Linked DNA regions of Homo sapiens: region 2 is linked to region 1. Evidence: promoter capture Hi-C in human tissues and cell types (Jung and others, 2019). All regions are on one chromosome and are shown on one strand. The core of a region is centred on a gene start or on the middle of the fragment in contact, and the rest is flanking DNA. Distances in the headings are between cores, read along the strand shown. Region 1 holds the start of ZNF30 (zinc finger protein 30). Region 2 overlaps ZNF302 (zinc finger protein 302).

Region 1 (6,827 bases), core at 4,146-6,645:
AGTGGAGGGAAGGTCAGCAGACAAACAAGTGAACAAAGGTCTCTGGTTTTCCTAGGCAGAGGACCCTGCGGCCTTCCGCAGTGTTTGTGTCCCTGGGTACTTGAGATTAGGGAGTGGTGATGACTCTTAACAAGCATGCTGCCTTCAAGCATCTGTTTAACAAAGCACATCTTGCACTGCCCTTAATCCATTCAACCCTGAGTGGACACAGCACATGTTTCAGAGAGCACAGGGTTGGGGGTAAGGTCACAGATCAACAGGATCCCAAGGCAGAAGAATTTCTCTTAGTACAGAACAAAATGAAAAGTCTCCCATATCTACGTCTTTCTACACAGACACGGCAACCATCCGATTTCTCAATCTTTTCCCCACCTTTCCCCTCTCTCTATTCCACAAAACCGCCATTGTCATCATGGCCCGTTCTCAGTGAGCTGTTGGGTACACCTCCCAGACGGGGTGGTGGCCGGGCAGAGGAGCTCCTTACTTCCCAGTAGGGGCGGCCGGGCAGAGGCGCCCCTCACCTCCCGGATGGGGCGGCTGGCCGGGCAGGGGGCTGACCCCCCCACCTCCCTCCCGGACGGGGCGGCTGGCCGGGCGGGGGACTGACCCCCCCCACCTCCCTCCCGGACGGGGTGGCTGCCAGGCGGAGACGCTCCTCACTTCCCAGACGGGGTGGCTGCCGGGCGGAGGGGCTCCTCACTTCTCAGACGGGGCGGCTGCCGGGCGGAGGGGCTCCTCACTTTTCAGACGGGGCGGTTGCCAGGCAGAGGGTCTCCTCACTTCTCAGACGGGGCGGCCGGGCAGAGACGCTCCTCACATCCCGGACGGGGCGGCAGGGCAGAGGCGCTCCCCACATCTCAGACGATGGGCAGCCGGGCAGAGACACTCCTCACTTCCTAGATGGGATGGCGGCCGGGAAGAGGCGCTCCTCACTTCCTAGATGGGATGGCGGCCGGGCAGAGACGCTCCTCACTTTCCAGACTGGGCAGCCGGGCAGAGGGGCTCCTCACATCCCAGATGATGGGCGGCCGGGCAGAGGGGCTCCTCACATCCCAGACGATGGGCGGCCAGGCAGAGACGCTCCTCACTTCCCAGACGGGGTGGCGGCCGGGCAGAGGCTGCAATCTCGGCACTTTGGGAGGCCAAGGCAGGTGGCTGGGAGGTGGAGGTTGTAGCGAGCCGAGATCACGCCACTGCACTCCAGCCTGGGCACCATTGAGCACTGAGTGAACGAGACTCCGTCTGCAATCCCGGCACCTCGGGAGGCCGAGGCTGGCGGATCACTCGCGGTTAGGAGCTGGAGACCAGCCCAGCCAACACAGCGAAACCCCGTCTCCACCAAAAAAATACGAAAACCAGTCAGGCATGGCGGCACGCACCTGCAATCGCAGGCACTCGGCAGGCTGAGGCAGGAGAATCAGGCAGGGAGGTTGCAGTGAGCCGAGATGGCAGCAGTACAGTCCAGCTTCGGCTCGGCATCAGAGGGAGACCGTGGAAAGAGAGGGAGAGGGAGACGGGAGAGGGAGAGGGAGACCTTCTGAGGACTGTCAACATAAGTTATAACATAACATATATAACATAACTTGTTATGTTATATTGTATATAACATAACTTATAACATAACTTATAGCATAAGTTACATATATGTAACATAGGTTACATAACTTATAACACCTTATAAGTCACTATGTAACTTATAACATTTCCTTTATTATTTATTGTCTGCTTCTCTCAATTCAAATTAAGGTAGATAAATTTCTTTGTTCACACATCTAGAAATGCATCTGCAACAGGGCGGGTGCTCAGTTAGTATTTGTTAAAACACACAGGAACCATGGCTTTACACCTGTTTACTCTCTCTAAATCAACCCTCAATGATTCCTTTCCCTCCACATTTATGATTGTTCAATGTTATCAGGAAGAGAAATAAATCATAATTTGAAGAAACAAAAATTTAATGGTAGCCACAATTATAGTAGAACCATTACCTCAACTGAATTCCTCACATCTCAGAACTCAGGATTCTGTACTTACCTCCCACTGGGACGTATCTTTTCCAGGCATCACAGATAATTTTCTTCTCCAGCTATCTTATGATTCTTTTTGTATAATTTCATTAATCAACATTAACAGCCTTCTAGGAATTGCTCACTTCACAAATGTTTTTTGGAGGTAATCTCAGTTCCCTATGAAGACTCTGTCTCTGCACTTCCAGATGAGAGGAAAATCACTCCCAGAAAGAGATGAGACAATGGAATCCCAAGCCTTTATCTCAGCGTTCGGATGACCTCTCTTGACAAATGCACAAGATAATACAACTGCGGCCACTATCCTAGTTGGAAACACAATTTGGTAAGTGGTTATTCTTTTCAGATAAACGTATGGAACTTAGACGAAATATATTTCAGGAAATGCAGTGAGAAACATTATAAGGGGGAAAGTTCTGCTCTCCTAGATTAGAACATCACTGACAGTGGCCAGAGAAAGTTTCCTGAGGGATCAGGGACTGTCATTTTCCACTGGATGCTCAGATTCCAGCTGTAGGGTTTGTGAGTATCCTTCCTCCCTCTTCCATGAGACAGCCTCATCTGAAATCTCCAATTTACCTCTGACGATTAAACACCTAGACCCTCACTATAGTCACACAAGTCTTCACTCAAAACACAAGGGCATAGCAGTAAGATTGCGATCCTTAGCTGTCATCTATGGAGTGATCACTTTTGAGGGGCACTTTTTGAATAAATCATTTCAAAATCATTTCAAAAATTTTCTCAAAAAAAAAACCCTATGATTTAAAAATTTCTTTGACATTCTAAGTATTCTACTAATCTATTTTATTTCTACCCACCATGGAACCCACATTTCCCTCTGCAAAATACAAATTTCTATTGTATTCACCCCTCACCCCTGAACATAAATTTATCCTCCCAAACAAATTTCTGCCCAGATGACATTTTGACGGCTATTTACACATCCCCATCTCAGAGAGCACATTGTACATAATTTGGCCCTTAATGCAGCCTCTATGAAAAGTCCTTTAATCAGGGGACTAGATGAGTCCTTATTTGTCTTGAATGTCTCTAGTTCCTCCAGGACAGAAGTGATCAGTGACCACAGCCAGTTCAGGAATCACAGGATATTGCAAATTTGTCTCCGATTGACATGAATTGGGTGGATTCTCACTCCAGGTCTATCACCTTCTTATTTGTTAATGAAATATTTGTCTTCAGACATTGTAATAGATACCCAATGAGTTTCAGAGGGTTTGAAAATGAACACTTTAGACATGAATAGCCTATATGGTGAACTTACAGAGGCAAAGCGACTGGTCAACAAACAGCTGCTCTACCAAAAAAGCCTGGAGTTACAAAGCAGATGAACATTTTTGCAGAGCTGGAAACTAATTCCAATAAGGCTAAAAACTTGCTACTGCTGGTAGGGAAAATCCTAACTATTGACAGTCAAATGCTTTTGATGCGAGGCTACTTAGGTTGATGTTGATAAGAGAAAAGTTCCCTTGTCCCCCTGGCAGGGCGTGCGATGGGGGTGTGGCTCGCTTCTTCAGTGTCCCGCTGCTCAAACCTCCAGGGGAGTATACAGACGGGCGGGCTGTGGGGCTCTGACCCCATGGCAGTGTCTAGGGGTGAATGTTTATAGCTGAAGCCCCAGTGGGCGTGTTACAGGATGCTCTTTAGCTGTCCGCAGGCGGCTTATGTTAGTCAATTCAATTAGATCCCTGCGTTATCGCAAGGACAGAGGGCTTTCATATCCCGGGGTTCCTGTCTTGGTGTACCAGAAGAATCAGATCACACATGGGCTTGGAGGATGACTGCAGGGTTTTGAGTGGAAGTAGCTCTCAACAGTTGGGGGAGCCAGAAGGGAAATGGTTTTCCCCTGGAATCGGGCTGCTCCGCAGCACCGGCTCTCCTTGGACTGCCCCAGCCAAACTCCGCGTCCTTCTGGTGGGTGGCCTGCCCGCGTGCCAGCGTCTGTCATGTCTTCTTCCGCCAACATGTTCCTCTGGATGTCCAGCGGCTTGTGTGTCTGCTTGCTAGGGTCTCAGAGTATTTATAGGGACAGGATGGGGGCGGGAACAGGATGGGGGCGTGGCAGGCCAGGGTGGTCTTGGGAAACGCAACATTTGGGCAGGAAAACAAAAATGCCTGCCCTCACCTAGGTCAGTTGGCACAGGGCCAGGGGTGGAGCCCTAGCCAGGGACCACACCCTCCTGTACCCAGCACCTCCCTTTCCCCCTTCCATATCATTTAAAGGGACCCCGCCCTTCCCTCCCCAGCACTCCCCTTCCCCACCTCCTTATCAATGTCATCACCCTGGACTGACTCCAGGAATCACTGTAATGTGGGCTTAATAAGAACAGAGCTCGGCTGGCCGCGGTGGCTCACCCTGTCATCCCAGCACTTTGGGAGGCTGAGGCGGGTGGATCGCTTGAGCCCAGGAGTTCGAGACTAGCCTGGGCAAGATGGCAAAACCCCATTTCTACAAAAAATATACAAAAATTAGCCAGGTGTAGTGGCGCGCCCCTGTAGTCTCAGCTACTCTGGAGGCCGAGGTGGGAGAATCACTTGAACCTGGGAGGCAGAGGTTACAGTAAGCCGAGATAGCGCCACTGCATTCCAGTCTGAGCGACAGAGGGAGACCCTGTCTCAAAACAAAACAAAAACAAAACAAACAAAAAGCGGAGCTGACAGTCAAGGTGAATTTCACGTTTGCCTGTATTCAGTTTTAGCATTACATAAACCAAAAGAAGAATGCCATAAAGGCTACAGGCAGCTAATACAGAGAGGTGTTACTGGAAAAGGAACCAGAAAGAGTAAATATCTCCTAAACGTATGATGGGACAGAAAGATAAATGCCTATTACATATAGTTAATATCTGTTTGATTAGCCTTATTTACATTCTCCTTTTAAAAGGTCTTACATTTAGCATCTTAGATAGAACCCACAAAATTTAAATATTTAATAGAAACTTAAAATTCCTGTATCAGAGGACAGAAATATATTTTTCTCACACGTGATTAGTCTAATTGCCACTATTAATCCTATTAATATTCTGTTAAATAATAGCATTTCTGTAGCGAAAAGCAAACAGTACGGAAAGATAATTTCAAACACCTAGTTTTCATATTTTTGTGTTAAAGTAATAACATATTTTGGTATAGATTATCATTTTTTGTTTGTTTTTGTTTTTGCTTTTTCTGACCTGGTGTGTTAATGCCCTGGGTTGGCCCTCTAAGAAGCTGGCCACCTACTTCGGGCCTCAGGTGTCAGACGCCCCAGCTTCGAGGTCTATGGCTCCCAGCAACTCGAGCGCCTGCGCCTGCGCATTCTCAGCCGGACGGGAGCGCCCAGAAGTCTCCGGGCGCCGGTGGGCGGCCTTGTGGACTGCGCCGGGCATGCTCGGCGGTGTGACGGCTCAGGACTGCATTTCCCAGAGGCTGCAGCTATCCGGCCAATGTAGCCTGAAACTACATTTCTCAGCGGCCACTGGAACGACCTCAATCTCTGCCTCCTCGCCAGTTCATTGTGGTCGTTGACCCGGCAGCGAGCTTTGGAGTTCATCGAGGGAGAAGTCAGCGCCCAGCTCCGAGGTTGGAGCAGCCCCGCCGGGCAACTTGAATTTCTGCAAACGAACACAGCACCGGGAGCTCTGCAGACCTGTGTCGGCGCGGAACCCGGACTGAGACATGCGTGAGCGTTGGGTGGACCGGGCGAGGATCCCGGGCCGGCGAGTGCGGGAGCGGCAGGGCAGGGAGGGTGCGTCGGCCGGGGCCGGTGTGCATCCGCGAAGACTGGGTGCATGGCCTCCATGCGAACCTGAGCTATTAATATTTGTTACTATTTTGGATAAAATCACTGTAATTGATTTATGTAAAGGAGCAAAAGACTCTTCAACTCTCAGTTTAAAAAGGAAACGATAGTTATGATACCTTTTGCATGCAGCGGGAAGAAATGGGATTGCCAGGAAGCCTCTTCTTGTTTGGAAAAAACTGTATAAAGTATTTACACCTTTTAAAGATGAGAGCAATGTCATCTGAAAATTATCAGTGCAGGGAAAAGGACTTCAAAGGATCTGTTGTGCAGATTACTTAACTAATGACAAAATTATGTAAGAAAGGAGAGCAAGATGACAGCTGTAAACATTTCCATCAATCTCCATATTGCACAGAAATAGGACCCAGCTTTTTCTTAAGGTTCTTCAATTTTGCATTATCCCACAGCAGTAGCTCTCTCTCTCTAGCTGCTAGGGGACAGAGGAAATTGAAATGTCAGAGAATCTTTTCTGTTGGTTTTTTATTTGTTTGTTTTTAAAGAAGAGTTGCTCTTAATTTTTTAGTTAGAATTAAAAGAAAGCATGCCAGAGAAACTTACGTTTTAAGTAAAAAGTGGAAACAGGTCGGGTGCCATGGCTCATGCCTGTAATCCCAGCACTTTGGGAAGCTGAGGCGGGTGGATTGCCTGAGCTCAGGAGTTCGAGACCACCAACATGGCAACATGGTGAAACCCCGTCTCTACTAAAAATATAAAAATTAGCCAGGCATGGTGGCGTGCGCTTGTAGTCACAGCTACTTGAGAGGCGGAGGTGGGAGAAGTGCTTGAAGCTGGGAGGCGGCGGAGGTTGCAGTGAGTGGAGATGGCACCACCGCAATCCAGCCTGGGCGACAGAGCGAGATCCCTTCTCTAAAAAAAAAAAAATATATATATATATATATATATATATATATATATAGATAGATAGATAGATAGATACATAAATTAAATTAAGTGGAAACAAGTGTTTAATTAAAATGAAATAAAGGATGTATAAT
Region 2 (6,719 bases), core at 255-2,754, 240 kb before region 1:
ATATAGGCACAAAATGATGATTTGTAATCCTGAATGCCTTCCACATCTTATTTCTGATACTTTCCTTTTTTCCATACTATTTTATCCATTTCGTACAGCTTACCCATTTCCTTTATCACACTCTGTTCCTGCTTCTGTGAACTTTGGATTCTCTGCTCTATTTGAGCATTGTTCAGAAGTCACTGAAATATTTGAGTTGTCAGAACTATGTGTTTTCTGGGTGCTTCATTTCTTATCCAATTCTCCTAATTCCACTGTAGAAGCTTTTTTCAAGAAGTAAAAAAAAAAAAAAAAAAAAAAAAAAAAAAAAAAAAAAAAAAAAAAAAAGGCAGTGCTTTGCTTTCTTGATATATTTCAGATTGGGAATCAAGATGGGAAAACAAGGAATTATCAACAAAGAAGGATATTTATGATGAAGATTCACCCCAACCAGTAACAATGGAAAAAGTTGTAAAACAAAGTTATGAATTTTCAAATTCTAATAAGAATTTGGAATATACAGAATGCGACACATTTAGAAGCACCTTTCATTCAAAGTCTACTCTTTCTGAACCACAAAACAATTCTGCTGAAGGGAATTCACACAAATATGATATATTAAAGAAGAATTTATCAAAAAAGTCAGTTATAAAAAGTGAGAGAATAAATGGTGGAAAGAAACTTTTAAATTCTAATAAAAGTGGGGCAGCCTTCAACCAGAGCAAATCTCTTACCCTTCCCCAGACTTGTAATAGAGAGAAAATCTATACATGCAGTGAATGTGGGAAAGCCTTTGGCAAACAGTCAATCCTCAGTCGCCACTGGAGAATTCATACAGGAGAGAAGCCCTATGAATGTCGTGAATGTGGGAAGACTTTTAGCCATGGTTCATCCCTTACACGACATCAGATAAGCCATAGTGGAGAGAAACCTTACAAATGCATTGAATGTGGGAAGGCCTTTAGCCATGGCTCATCACTTACTAACCATCAGAGCACTCACACGGGAGAGAAACCGTATGAATGTATGAACTGTGGAAAGTCTTTTAGTCGTGTGTCCCTTCTCATTCAGCATCTAAGAATTCATACGCAAGAAAAACGCTATGAGTGTCGTATATGTGGAAAGGCCTTCATTCATAGTTCGTCTCTCATTCACCATCAGAAAAGCCATACTGGAGAGAAGCCTTATGAATGTAGAGAATGTGGGAAAGCTTTCTGCTGTAGCTCACACCTTACTCAACATCAAAGAATTCACAGTATGAAGAAAAAATATGAATGCAACAAATGTCTCAAGGTCTTTAGTAGCTTCTCATTTCTTGTTCAACATCAGAGTATTCATACTGAAGAAAAACCGTTTGAAGTTTAGAAATGCAGGAAATCCTTCAACCAGCTTGAATCACTGAATATGCATTTGAGAAATCACATTAGATTGAAACCCTACGAATGCAGTATATGTGGGAAAGCCTTTAGTCATAGGTCGTCCCTGCTTCAACATCACAGTATTCATACTGGAGAGAAACCTTACGAATGTATTAAATGTGGGAAGACCTTCAGCTGTAGTTCAAACCTTACTGTACATCAGAGAATTCATACTGGAGAAAAGCCATATAAATGTAGTGAGTGTGGGAAAGCTTTTAGCAAAGGCTCGAATCTTACTGCCCATCAAAGAGTACATAATGGAGAGAAACCCAATAGTGTGGTAAGTGTGGAAAAGCCTTTAGATCATATGAATCCCTATACATGTGAGAAATCTTACAGAAGAGAAGCAGTGTTTATCACGGTAAACTTCATTCATAGATCCTCCCTTATTTAACATCAGAAAAATGTATACTGGGGAAAAGTTGTATGAAGGTGGTGAACATGGGAGACTTTTAGCAATGATGCAGATTTTTTTATTAGAGTTTATACTGTAGAGAAATCATATGAAGTCAATAAATGTGGGAAAGCCTTTGTCAGTATTAATCCCTTAATTGACCTAAGTATACTCACACTAGGAAAAATCTGTGTACATGTAGCAAATGTGGGAAAGACTATAGGCAATAGGAATCTCCTGCAAACTCCTACAGGAGAAAAGTTGTATGAATGTGGAAACTTTAGAAATTGAAGGAATTTTTCAGTTCCAAGTGCATCCCTTATTCTATAGGAAATAAACTGGAGACAAATCTCATTTAAGAGATGCAGCAAAGTGTTCACTAAGAGTGTTTATCTTGCCAGACATAAGAAGATGAATGGTAGAGCAACCTGAAGGATTTAGAAATTACATATAAATCTTTGCAGTTATGCTATTTGTAAACAGGATTATATAGGAGAGCAAATAAACATAAGTATGCATTTCTTAGAGCAGTAGCTTGCAGTTTCAGTTGAGTTCTACTTAGAAATTCTTTTTAGCTAGTGGGCATGTGAAGATATTTAGTCACCCAGAGGAGCCAGTAAATGTTATAATGTTAAAAATTAAAGCTGCAAAAGAAATAAAATGGTGTTAATAAAAATTTGGCATCTAATAAAATCATTTTGTATATCATGAACTCTTTCTCTGTGACTGTTTGCGACAAAAAAAAATTTCACTAAGATTAGCCTTAGTATAGCCTTTAGCGGGAGACTAGCAAACTTCGAGAAGAATGGCCTGCTCTTTATACTAAGAATAGCAGTATTTTGGTGAGGATTATTGAGTCCATATCCAGTAGGCTTAATTAAATACATTTCAAGAACATTTACTGAGCATTACTCATGTGTATTACACAGGGATGGGATAAAGGAATCTAGTAGTTCTGAGCTCTAGTGCTGTGTCGAAATCACTGGAAGGACGTGTTAAAGCACAGATTGCTAAGCCTCAGTCCTAGAGTTTCTGTATGAGTTGATTTGAATTTGCATTTTTCACACGTTCTTAGGGGACACTAACACTGTTTGTCCAGAATATAATAATAATGTTATGGTGTCACTGACAACATATTGTTTCCTCAATCTTACCTATTAACCATTTCTTGAGCATCTTCTGTGGACTTAAGAAACACTCCATACTCCTTAAGAGCTTCGAGATGTGTGTGTGTGAAGAGCATTAAGCTTTGGAGTCTTGTTACCTGGGTTTAAATCCAAGTTACATGTATACTGGCTTTGTGACCTTGGACAAACTGTTTCACTGGGTCATGCTGCAGTTTCTCCATCTGTAAAATGGTAATAAACCTATTTCACAGCATTATTATGAAAGTTAAATGAGTTAATTGATGCACAATGTTTACAACAATGCCTGGCCTCTCAATAGCATTCAGTAAGTATTAGCTATAGCTATTGATTTCATCATCATCGTCTTCTCATGGTTGCTTCATTATTCTGGTCTCAGATGTCACATCTAATCACTTGCCACTCTTATCTGTTTACTGTTTCACATTTTTGGGGGAGAGCATTTACAAAACACCCCCGTTTCCTTCCAACAAATCCTTTAGTATCTGAGCCATTTTGAGGGAATGTTTCTTGCCCAAAATAACCTAAGGAGAAACAAAGAGACCAGATAGGAGATGAGATGAGAATTCAGCAGGTCTCTGAGAAGGAAGAAGGATGCCCTACAGAGTTGGAAAATGGGCCGAGTGAAGGAGGCATCAGGCTTCCACATGGAGGAAAGGGGAGGGTTTACCCACTGAGACCAGAAGACTACAGGTCTTTGGCATCATCTCTGAGTACAGAGTCCCATGGGCTGGGTGCCACTGCCCTCACTCTTCCTGAATGGAGGTTACAGCCTGTCATTGAAGGTCACCGATGCCTGGAAAGTCAGAGTTTTCTTGTTAGCCTTGGGCCAGTCAAATGTGATTAGAACTCAGTTGCTGGTAAACATCTAGAAAGAACCAATGAACATATCACTGAGCACTTCCTGGGAGCTTAATTCTTTGCTGCTGAGGGGGAGTCAGTTTTTAAACAAATTGCAATTGTGTTAGAGGAAAAAAGCTTTATATGCAGAAGTAATTAATGGAAGATACAAGACAATGACAAGGCCGTGTGGCCCGTATGGCCCGAGAGGTGCTGAGGGTAAGCACTCTGGCATCAAAGAAATAGGGAAAAACTATAATGATCATAATACAATACCGTTAATAGCAGCAGCCACTGCGCCTTGTGTTTGCTTTGTGTGCTGCATTCAGACAATTAAATGCTGTCAGCTCTGGACACAAATTGCTAGGTGTGAATTCAGCCTATTGGGACTGTCGCTTGCTTATTCTATACACTTGGGGAAGTCACTTCATTTCCCGATGTCTCCATCAAAACAAAAATATTTCTCATCAGGTGGTTGTGAGAATTAAAAGATATATAAAGCAAGCAACAAAGTGCCTCTGCATGGAAGTTTGTTGCCGTGTTTTTCCTGCTTTCAATAATCTTCCCACATACTGTAAGGTAAATGCCATAATCATCTTTGTGCTAGTGAGCTGAGTGAGTCTCTCTCAGAGTCACACATCTTAGGAATATAGGCTACATTTGAACATTTAGTAAAAGACCACACAATATTGCCCTTCTAGGACAGATCTCAGAAGACTGGGATTTCTCTTGGCAACCATAAGGCTCTCTTGCCTCACTGAACAAAAAACATTTCCTTTGGCCATGCCGCTCCTTCTGCCTAGAATGTGTCCCATACCCCATTTATTACCACGCTTACCTGCCAAGGGAGGCCTGCCTACCTTGCAAAGCTCACTAGGTGTGTCAAAGACGAACAAAGCTGGACATTAATGACAGTGGTAAGAACAGACTAATTGATAACTATTGCAATGGGGAAAGGAATTTGGCATGAAGTCAACTAAGCTTTGATTTGTACAAAGGTAAATGAGTATGTTAAAGGGAGGGTGAAGAAATAGGGGGTGGTGAGGAGCGGTTCAGTGGAGTCAGAAAAGTGAAAAATTAGGAAGGGAGGGGGCTGGTCTATGTGCAGTCTTATCTGGGTTTGCTACTGGCACTTTTGAGTTAGGCTCATATCCTCCCACAGAGGCTGGGAGACAGGGGCCTTATCTTCAGGTGCTGGCTGGAAGAAATTCTTTGGACAGCCTTGAGTTTTTTGGAAAGGCACTTTAGGAGTCATTAGAAAATGTTAGTGTTGTTCAAGTCTCAATAGGCCACAGTTGACAGGCATATTCAAGAAGGCTCAGAGGGGCCTGGATAGAGTTTGGTCAAAGAAAATCTTTGTCAGGTGTCACCGCAGGCTTCTCCAGCCCACTGAGGAGGAATGGTGGTGAAGACAAAAGAACATAGGCAAGGGATCAAAGTACAGGGTGTGAGTTTCTGCCAAGAGTTGCGTGACCCTGAGAAGGTAACTTAAGTTTTCCAAATCTCAGGTTCCTTTTCTGTAAAGCAGGAATAATAGAAACTAACTCTGAGAAAATTGGGATTAAATGAAGTGCTACATAATGGTGCTACATAACGAGTTACCCTCAGAGCTCAATAAATGTAGCTATTATTGTTATTTAGCCTCTTTGCTCCCACACCACCCTGGAAAACCCAACCAAGTCCTGATCTCTACTTTTGTACGTGTGCCACATTCCCTGCACAAAGATTCCAGAAGATGAGAAATACTTAACCTAGAACCAGCAAGGCCGAAAAAAAAAAAAAAAGACTCTCCTACTAGGTGACATTGGTGCAGAACAGGGAAGGATGCAAAGGAGGAGAGGAGAGGGAGAGGCACTGCAGAGATCTGGACTCAGTGTCCCAGGCAGAGGGAAAGACTGGGAAGTCGGAAAGAGCTTGGAATGATCAGGACAGCTTGGCAGGAGAGCAGTGAGCAAAGGAAGATGGAGTAGAGGATGCATTTCTAGGACTGTTTCTCTTTAGAAATAGCATCCAGAATGTCCCTGAATGGTGCTGGGCACTGGGAACACACATTAAACATTAGCCATCTCTGGTACTCTCACCTAGAATGAATGATGGTTAATATTTCCCCTTTAAGCCTTCCTTAGGAAAATGGAGGTGAAAGGTAGCAAGGTAGCTTGCACAAGGCCACAGCCCTGAGATAGGGCACAGCACGATCCAAACATGTCTCTGGATTCTGCAGGCGATGCCTCTCCTGAGGATCTGCACATGCTGCTGTACGTGAATGGTGGGGGGTACTAAGAAGTTGTAGTTCATACTTCCCCACCACATACCACTGATTTCTAGAAAGAGGAATTTTCTCTTGTAATACTTGATGTAACTCTAGGACTCTGGACAGACAGTGACCCTATCAGCAGGAAGAGAAGGCCTGAAGAATCCCAGGATTCCACGATCTTCCATGTCAGTGTGCCACAGCCATGTGGTTGAGAGTCCAAGTATGTGAGACTGGGGGATAGTTAATACAACTGTGCTAGGAGGGAAGCGACTATATCAGTACTTCAGACTCAGCTGAACTCTCTCCCAGGCCCTGCAAAGGTGTCTAGATGGGTCCTATCCTTCTTAGTGGCCTTCCTAGCTTGGTCCCAAAGAGCCTCCTGCATCCACTGGGTGGTGTGGGCAGACAAGTCATGTGACAAATGGAAGTTCACCCTTGCAGTACCAAAAGTCCAGCCCATGATAATGCAGGCTGCAGGAAACACTCCTGTCCCAGGCTGTCATTTGGACATATGAAGCACATCCTTCTGGGTAATGTAGCTCTTCACCTTATCTGAGGCAATAGCTAAGTAGCATCCAGAGGACCACTAGGAAGAAGCATCAAAAGACTTCCATGAGAGTGGTACTTCACATCAGTTCGTATGAACCGGGCTTTCTTGCATGGATAGTTGTTCAATTTGGTGTTTCTGT

Evidence for each region. The method cuts DNA at HindIII sites, captures the fragments that hold promoters and counts their contacts. A contact is called where the count stands out against the background at its distance.
Region 2: a contact is called between a fragment that was not itself captured here and the fragment with the promoter of ZNF30 in region 1, in 1 of the 25 tissues and cell types used here (hippocampus).

What each region holds. Positions count from the first base shown.
Region 1 is chr19:34,921,508-34,928,334 of GRCh38, forward strand. ZNF30 (zinc finger protein 30) reads left to right here and starts at 5,396. Exons shown (of 5, transcript NM_194325.3): 1 at 5,396-5,709. ZNF30-AS1 (ZNF30 antisense RNA 1) reads right to left here and starts at 5,319. Exons shown (of 3, transcript NR_110749.1): 1 at 5,222-5,319; 2 at 2,035-2,327; 3 at 1,508-1,544. The HindIII fragment of the contact is 21,653 bases long and covers 1-6,827 here.
Region 2 is chr19:34,683,894-34,690,612 of GRCh38, forward strand. ZNF302 (zinc finger protein 302) reads left to right here. Exons shown (of 5, transcript NM_001289187.2): 5 at 359-2,503. The coding sequence ends at 1,344. Among named protein-coding and RNA genes, the nearest start is that of ZNF302, 9.6 kb to the left of the region's middle. The HindIII fragment of the contact is 3,944 bases long and covers 1-3,476 here.